Linked DNA regions of Homo sapiens: region 1 is linked to region 2. The links are contacts of gene promoters, found by promoter capture Hi-C in human tissues and cell types (Jung and others, 2019). All regions are on one chromosome and are shown on one strand. The core of a region is centred on a gene start or on the middle of the fragment in contact, and the rest is flanking DNA. Distances in the headings are between cores, read along the strand shown.

What was found. The method cuts DNA at HindIII sites, captures the fragments that hold promoters and counts their contacts. A contact is called where the count stands out against the background at its distance.
Region 1: a fragment that was not itself captured here is called in contact with the fragment with the promoter of SLC13A5 in region 2 in 2 of the 25 tissues and cell types used here (mesendoderm cells and thymus).

What each region holds. Positions count from the first base shown.
Region 1 is chr17:6,975,706-6,980,320 of GRCh38, reverse strand. No RefSeq gene overlaps it. Among named protein-coding and RNA genes, the nearest start is that of ALOX12, 18 kb to the left of the region's middle. The HindIII fragment of the contact is 6,661 bases long and covers 1-4,615 here.
Region 2 is chr17:6,710,626-6,714,790 of GRCh38, reverse strand. It overlaps SLC13A5 (solute carrier family 13 member 5), which reads left to right and starts at 1,422. Exons shown (of 12, transcript NM_177550.5): 1 at 1,422-1,559. The coding sequence starts at 1,458. The HindIII fragment of the contact is 16,548 bases long and covers 1-4,165 here.

The DNA of each region.
Region 1 (4,615 bases), core at 1,948-4,447, 260 kb before region 2:
TCATATCCTGATACCTTATTAATTTATTGGGTGTAAGTTCCTCCAATTTTTTGACTTTGTTTCTCTCTTATGGTGTTAGGAACTTCTCAACTGTTTGGTGAGCCTTTTTTTGGGGCACAGCTGTTTACAGTTGATGTTATTTACTAGACTGTCTGCTGTCTTGGCTTTCACAGCTCAGTTGGGGAGAGGGTGCTGCCACTGCTGTCAGGGTTACACCTTGTATTTATTTTCTTTTTTAAAAAAATTAAATTAAGTTATTTGAGTTTCTGGGGTACATGTGCAGGATGTGCAGGTTTGTTACATGGGCAAATGTGTGCCATGTCATAATGGTGATTATTTAAAAGTTAAGAACAAATGCTGGTGAGGTTGCGGAGAAATAGGAATGCTTTTACACTGTTGGTGGGAATGTAAATTAGTTAAACTATTGTGGAAGACAGTGTGGTGATTCCTCAAAGGTTTAGAACCAGAAATACCATTTGACCCACCAATCCCATTACTGAGTATATTCCCAAAGGAATATAAATCATTCTGCTATAAAGATACATACACACATATGTTCATTGCAGCACTGTTCACAATAGCAAAGACATGGAGTCAACCCAAATGCCCATCAATGATAGACTGGATAAAGAAACTGTGGTATATACACCACGGAATACTATGCAGCCATAAAAAGGAACAAGATCATGTCCTTTGCAGGGACACAGATGAAGCTGGAAACCATTATCCTCAGCAAACTAACTCAGGAAGAGAAAACCAAACATCGCATGTTGTCACTTGTAAGTGGAAGCTCAATAGTGAGAACATGTGGACACAGGGACGGGAACAACACACATTGGGGCCTGTCAGGAGAGGGCGGAGGTTGCGGGGAGAGCATTAGGAAAAAGAGCAAATGCATTGCTGGGCATAATACCTAGGCAATGGGTTGATAGGTATTTATTTTCTTTCTTTTTTTTTTGAGATGGAGTCTCGCTCTGTCGCCCATGATGGAGTGCAGTGACGCCATTCAGCTCACTGCAAGCTCCGCCTCCTAGGTTCACGCCATTCTCCTGCCTCAGCCTCCTGAGTAGCTGGGACTACAGGTGCCTGCCACCACGCCTGGCTAATTTTTTGTATTTTTTAGTAGAGACGAGGTTTCACCATGTTAGCCAGGATGGTCTCGATCCCTGACCTCGTGATCTGCCCTCCTTGGCCCCACAAAGTGCTGGGATTACAGGCGTGAGCCACCGCGCCCGGCCGATAGGTATTTGTTTTCCCTGAAAGTTGGGAGTGGGTGGGTTGGGCTGCTTGTGAGGTGTATGGGAGGCGTGTGTGCTGGGTGTGACGGCTCCATACTCCCTGTGGAGTGCTTCCTGTGGTTACCACGCCTCAGGGCATGCTCTTGCTTCCTCCTGAGGGAGAAGTCTTCTATGTATTCCTGCAGGTACTGTAGGCTACAGTTCCCCTTTCCATCTAACCTAGTATTGATGAAGGGCAGGATCTTGGCTTTGCTCGGGAAAGAATTCAAGAGCAAGCCAGTGCTGGAAGAAAACAACTTTACTGAGGAGGCGGCTGTGTCACAGCTCTGTGACCGCTCCCGGGGAGCAGGACTACAGCGGAGGCAATCCGAGAGGACAGTGCAGGGTGGTGTGCAGCCATATTTATGCCCACTTTTAGTGACATGCTAATTAAAGGGGCACGTTATTCAGGAATAGCTAGGAAATGGGCAGTAACTTCTGGGTGTTGCTGTGGCAATGGTACATTGTCATGGTGCTGATAGGAGTGTCTTACGGTGATGGGCAGTGAGAGGTTCTTTCAGCCCCTCTACTGGTTTCGGTCAGTTTTGTTTTGTCTTTTTTTTTTTTTTTTTGAGATGGACTCTCTCCGTCGCTCCGACTGGAGTGTAGTGGTGCGGTCTTGGCCCACTGCAACCTCCGCCTCTTGGATTCAAGTGATTCTCCTCGCTCAGCCTCCTGAGTAGCTCGGATTACAGGCATGAACCACCACGCCTGTCTCATTTTTGTATTTTTAGTAGACACAGGGTTTCACCATATTGGCCAGGCTGGTCTCGAACTCCTGACCTCAGGTGATCTGCCCACCTCGGCCTCCCAAAGTGCTGGGATTACAGGCGTGAGCCACCATGCCCGGCCTTCAGTCAGTTTCAATCTGGTCTGGAGACGAGTCCCACCTGCCTCCTACCTCAGTATGATTTCTGTCTTTCAGCATGTTCTCTCTCCCCAGTCCAGCAAGCATTTCTGGTTTTTGAGCATAATTATTAATTTATTAATAATATGCTTCTGTTGTTTGTGTGGTTAGAATTTGGTGTAGAAGGGTAGACTGCAGTATCTATTAGTTCATCATCTTATAACCAGTATTGGATATTTTGTTCTTCTTCTCCTTTTTTTTTTTTTTTTGAGACAGGGTCTCACTCTGTCACCTAGGCTGGAGTGTGGTGATGTGATCATAGCTCACTGCAGCCTCAATCTCCTGGCCTCAAGTGATCTTCCTGGCTTAGCCTCCCAAGTAGCTGAAACCATAGGCAGGCATCACCACGCTCAGCTAATTTTCTTATTTTTGTAGAGATGGGGTCAACCTATGGTTACCCAGGCTGGTCTCCAACTCCTGGACTCAAGGGATCCTTCCGCCTCAGCCTCCCAAAGTGCTGGGATTACAGGCATGAGCCACCGCACCTGGCCAGATATTTTATTTTACATCAAATCCCCTTGCGTTGGTGACGGAAAAGATTTATTTTAAAACAGTTTTGTCATTCTCAAATTATGAATCAAAGAAGCAAAAAGTAGTTTAACTCATATATCCTGCTTCACCAGTTTGTTACAAAATTAGGTTACACTCCTTTTAATATTTAAACAATTCTGTGCCTCCACCCTGACTACTAGAATATGTTCTTTTCCATTCTCCAGGATCCTTCTTCCGTGATGTTCGCTAACAGCTCTACAGTACTTACTTTGGGCCAGACATTTTTCTAAGTGCTTTTTACATATAATAACTCATAACAACTCCGGATTCCTTAGAGAGGCTTGTTAAGTTTTATGGGTTAGCACTTCTTATTATCTTTGGAAGAACAAAGCCTGAAAACCTGCTCAGTCAGCCAGAGATTCCTGTTCTCTTTGGCTGTTGTTGCTTTTACTCACATATGATATTTCCGGTGAATCTCAGGGTGTCCTACTATTTTTCTGCTAGTCTACTGCTAGGAGAGTAGGTCCCCATTGAACACTGGTCAATGAGAGTATCACATCTTCTTGGACAGTGATTGGTTCAAAGATGGACATATGGTCCAAGATGGGCTAATCAGAGCTAACGAGGCTTTTTCTGGGGCTTTGATGGAAATAGAATGAAATCTTTGTGTTTCCATGGTGGCTGCCAAGCTGGTAGACTACAGGCCTGTTGACTCCAGTGACCCTCTTGGAGAAAGCCTGTCAGAGAATAAAGCCAACAGACAGGAAAGCAAATTGAGGTCACGGAGAGGGAGCAAGAGAGTGAGCCTTCGTCCTGATGATATTCTTTGAACCCCCTGATGCAGCCATGCCTGAGGTCAGACTAACCCTGACCTTTTATGTTATAGGAACCAATAATTTCCTTTTATTTTTATTGTTCTTTTTTTCTGTTTCCCTCCAACTTAGGTGAGACAAGAATGCCTATTTTATTTTATTTTGGTATTTTTTATTTTTTTGAGATGGAGTTTCACTCTTGTTGCCCAGGCTGGAGTGCAGTGGTGCAACCTTGGCTCACTGCAACCTCCGCCTCCCTGGTTCAGGTGATTCCCCTGCCTCAGCCTCCTGAGTAGCTGGGATTATAGGCATGTGCTACCCTGCCCGGCTAATTTTGTATTTTTAGTAAAGACAGGGTTTCGCCATGTTGGCCAGGTTGGTCTCGAACACCTGACCTCAGGTGATCCACCCACCTTGGCCTCCCAGACAGCTGGGATTACAGGTGTAAGCCACTGCACCAGCCTAAAAATGCCTATTTTTAAAAGCCACTTTGAATTCACTTTCTGTTACACGTAGACAAAAGAGTCCTGAGTAAGGCCAGAGGTGAGGCAGAGGTACGGTCTCTAGGCTGGAGCACCTGGGCAGCTGTAGACTGTGGCTAAAAAACTACTGACTTCAAACAATGTACCAGCCTGTGAGTGGCGTTCTTCCTGGCAGTCCAGGATTTGTGCAAGTGAGTTTGCATGTGGAGTGAATTTCTTGCTATCCTCATACCTGGGTTTTTTTTTTTTTTTTTTTTTTGAGACAGAGTTATGCTCTTGTTGCCCAGGCTAGAGTGCAATGGTGGCATCTCAGCTCACTGCAACTTCCACCTCCCAGGTTCAAATGATTCTCCTGCCTCAGCCTCCCGAGTAGCTGGGATTACAGGCATGCACCACCATGCCTGGCTAATTTTTTTTTTTTGTATTTTTAGTAGAGATGGGGTTTCTCCATGTTGGTCAGGCTGGTTTGAACTCCCGACCTCAGGTGATCCGCCCACCTCGGCCTCCCAAAGTGCTGGGATTACAGGCGTGAGCCACCGCGCCCAGCCACTGGGTCCTTTTTGTGGGGATATTTTCTCGAAATTGCTGGGACCTTCAACCCTCAGGGGTGGGAAGTTGGCATCTCCTAGGTTTTTTTTTCATATT
Region 2 (4,165 bases), core at 173-2,672:
ACAATGATTTGTCAATTAAAAATGAAATAACACTTAAAAAATAAAAAAGTAAAAAGTAAAAATTACACCAATAAATATAAGAGGTACAAATTGTGCTAAGTGCCCTGGGGACACAGGAAAGGCGGGAAAACCCAGGGCTATATGCATGAGAGTTACAAAGGGAAAAGGACAGGAGGGAGGCAATTGCAGGAGGGGCTTGGGAGAATGCATGTCCTTGGGTGCAGGTCACAGGAAGGAACTCATGAGCTTGATTCAGGATGTGTTGAATTTTCGGGCCGAGACACGTCCAGTCTGCGGAAGGCTGGACATCTGGGACTCTGGCATCATGGCTGGGTTGAAGGCAGAGGATGGTAATCACTAAGGAGCCGGCTGTGGTTAGGCCACCAGCATGGATGAGACTCCCCAAAAGGAAGCTGCAGAATGAGAGGCAGGCAGAGGAGAGGAAAGAAGAAAATCACAGAGGTGGGGATGTCTTTGCATCCGTGTGTCTCCAGTGCCCAAAACAGGGCCTCGCGGAGAAGAGGTGCTCGGCACCTGTCTGTTGCCTGGCGGGCTGAATGAATACATGGGCGACTGTCTCAGTGTCGCCTTAGTTGTGTCCCTTCCTCTCTAGAGCTCCGTTTCCCTCTGACCTGGGTCGGGCGGGCAGCTGCGGCTGCTGAGGCTCGGTGGGGCCCCTCCAAGACGCGTGTCCGCATCTGCCCGCCGGGCGTCTGCGGGGTGCAGCGTCCACTGGAGCGCGACAGCCCCTGGGACAGAGGAGGACAGTGGCCTCGCTTCCCTGTGCGATCGCCCAGGAGCTCCGGGCCGGAGAGTGCGAGCGGGGAAAAGGGGTCCTGCACCTAGAGTGGGGCGGACGTGGCGAGGAAGCCAGGGGGGACCGGGAAGCGAGGCCCGCGGTGCGGAGGGCGCGGGGCGTGGGGGGACACCTCTCGGAGAGACACCGGAGGGGCGGAAGTAAGGAGATGGAAAGGAGAGGGAGATCGGGGAGATAGACCTGAGAGACCCAGAGGCCTGCAGAGAGTTTCATCCGGGACCCTTCAGAGCCCAGGAAAGAGCAGATGCGGACGCGGGAGGGCGCCTTACGCCAAAGCGGGCAGCACCAGTGACCAAAACACGCCCCGCTTGGCAGCCCCGGGACGCACCTCTGCCTCGGCAGCGCAGGAGAGGCTTGGACAGCGCGAGATGCTAGGGCCCAGGCTGCCCCTAGAGGGCTGGCCCGAAGCGTTGGAGTCCAAAGACGCCTCCCACCGCCGCCGGGTGGCAGAATTGGGGGCAGGCGCGTCCCACAGACCCCGAGGGGTGGCCCCGCCCCAGGGCCGCGGGGAGGCGCCCCCGTGCGGGGCGGAGTTGTCACCGCCCCCTCCCCAATCCCCGGGGACTGTGGCCCCTTCTTAAGCCCGCGGCGCCTCTAGCTGCCCCTCACTCGTCTCGCCCGCCAGTCTCCCTCCCGCGCGATGGCCTCGGCGCTGAGCTATGTCTCCAAGTTCAAGTCCTTCGTGATCTTGTTCGTCACCCCGCTCCTGCTGCTGCCACTCGTCATTCTGATGCCCGCCAAGGTCAGTTGCATCTCCAGGCAGCCCTTCGGACACCCGGCGTCCTGTGCCCACTAACGGGCACCGATCCCGGGAGCCCTGAGCTGGAGCGCACGGATTTCGCGGGGAGCACAGCTCTCCCGGGGCGCGCGCACTCAGGAGCTCCAGGTGCCGGATGGGAGGTGCCCTGTAAAGAATCTGAGGGGCATGGCGACCCCAGGGCGCACCACCCTTGGGGTTTACAGATCCCAGGGCGCAAGAGCCGTCCAGGCAAGCACGGAAACCTCGAAGTGAGCACAGATCTCAGCCACACAGATCCCAGCCTTAGGCTCAGCCCCTGGCTCCGAATCGAATCTCCCACAGTGCATAACCCTGTTTCCCCCCAAAATGCCACCTGCGCCAACAGGGAACCTGGGAGCTTGCCTTTCCCTCTCTCTCTCCTGTCTTTTCCCTTCGCCAAAGAAGACTTCAAGCTGTAGGTGGCTTCTGCCGTCAGGAGGGACCTACAGGAAAAAAATCATCACCCACGTGGATCCTGCGCTGTCTTTGCCACTCTCTGGCCCTTCCTTGGGCCTTAGTGTCTCTATCTATGATCCACATTCCTTCCAACCTGGAGAGCCACATCTGATTCATAATCCTGCTCCAGGCTGCAGGCAGGTTGGGGTTGGCCTGCTTTGCCTCCTGCCTGCTGGGGCTGTAGCAGGAGGCGGGACACATTCCCAGAGCTCGCGCCTTGGGTGGCAGGACCTGGAGTTGCAGGGAAGCTTCCTCCCAGGCCCTAGTCTCCTAATGCTTCTGTGAGGGAGAGAGAGAATGAATGGCCTTGGCCGCAGGGTGGGCGCAGGCTCCACTGGGCTGTGCACAGCCAGTTTGGCGGAGGCCCAAGCCCTTTGAAGCCTTTTGTGGCTGCTGGCTGCTCCTTCCTCGTTCCTTCTTTCAGCCCTTTCACTCTCAGCCCAGACAGGAAACCTCCAGCTCCCCACCTCCCCTCCCCAGGCAGGTTTGGGAAACAGAGGAGCTCTTCAGGGGATGCTCTGGGGGGGAGCTCTAGAGGAAGGGAGTGCACTGGGGTGTCAGGAAGCCAACCTGCAAGAGAACTGGACTTCCACCATTCTGTCATCTGTGTGACTTTAGCCAAGTGCCTGTGCTCTCTGGGCCTTGGTGTTCTCATCTGTACAATGGGGCTAGGTGGTTTGGTTCTGACACTTTAAGGCTTTGGGAATCAAAAGGGATTAACGTTAGTTCCTAGGATGGGGGAGGGGGAGACTGGGAGGAGCCCTTGGGTGGGCCTAGCACAGGCCCTGGATGGGTCAAGGACAGCAGATCCAACTGTGGAGGCTGTGCAGTTGCCACACCAACTGTGGGCAGCCACACTTCCTCTGTAGCAAGAAGTCTGGGGTTGTTATTGTCCAGGGGAAGTAGCCAGGCAGGAGAGCTGCGATTTCAGCTCTGCTGGTAGGGAGTGATGTTCCCTGGAATGATTATAGTAGCTTGGCTGACCTTCCTGCCACAGGAGACCCCACTCACACACACACACATACACACTCTCTCTCTCACACACACACACTCACAAACACACACAGACACACACACAAACACACAGACACACACAAAACACACGCACAAACACAAACACACACAAAAACACACGCACAAACACACACCCAAACACACAAACACAGACACACAAACACACACACAAACACACACACAAAACACACAAAAAACACAAACACACACATACACATACACACACACACACACACACACCCTGAACTGGAAACCCTAACTCAGTGTGTGTGTATGTGTGTGTATGTGTGTGTGTGTAAGAGAGAGAGAGAGAGAGATTAAGCTGTCCTTTGAGTGAGGACCAGGGAGGGGAAGAAGAGAACCCAGGGAGAGTCCTTCCAAAGGCTGCCTTCACGAGCTTTCCTTCTGGCGGGGTTGGGTGAGGACCCTGGACCTTGTCTTCTTGTTTTTTCCCTTTCTGCCTGTTTTGGTCACCCTGCCCCCACCCTCCATGGCCGCCCCATTGTGCAAGGAAACCCAGAGGGTACACAGCACGGGCAGGGCAGCTGGGAAGCTGGTGAGAAGCTGGGAGGACCTTGGCAGCCTGAGCAACACAGTCCTTGCCAGGAGGTGACTCCCAGGGCACGCCACCCTCTGCCAACACCCAGGCCTCTCTCCTCACCGACTGTCTCCAGTTTTCCTGTCTCCACCTGGATTCCCTCCTGGCCTCATCTCTGCTCCACTCTCTCTATCCTTCCTCTGGGTCTTTTTTTAATTGAAAAAAAATTTAATGAAATAAATGATAGATTTCTTGTATCACTTATTTTATTAAAATGTAAAAGGTTTCTTTTTTGCAAATCTGTAAGATATAAAGTAAAAATAAAAGTACACTCAAATCCCATAAGTTATTCACATTTTGATGAACATCTTTCCAGATGAATCTCTCTCTCTCTTCCCAGACACACACACACACACACACACACAGTAGGTTTTGCCTGCATTTTTTCATTAAGTGGTGTGTCAGGACACCCTGCCTTGTTAATGTTGAACTTTTCTAACATCCGCTTCCCATCCTGCCCTCTCCCTTGACACTGTGGAGGCATTCTAGACTAGGGGGGTCA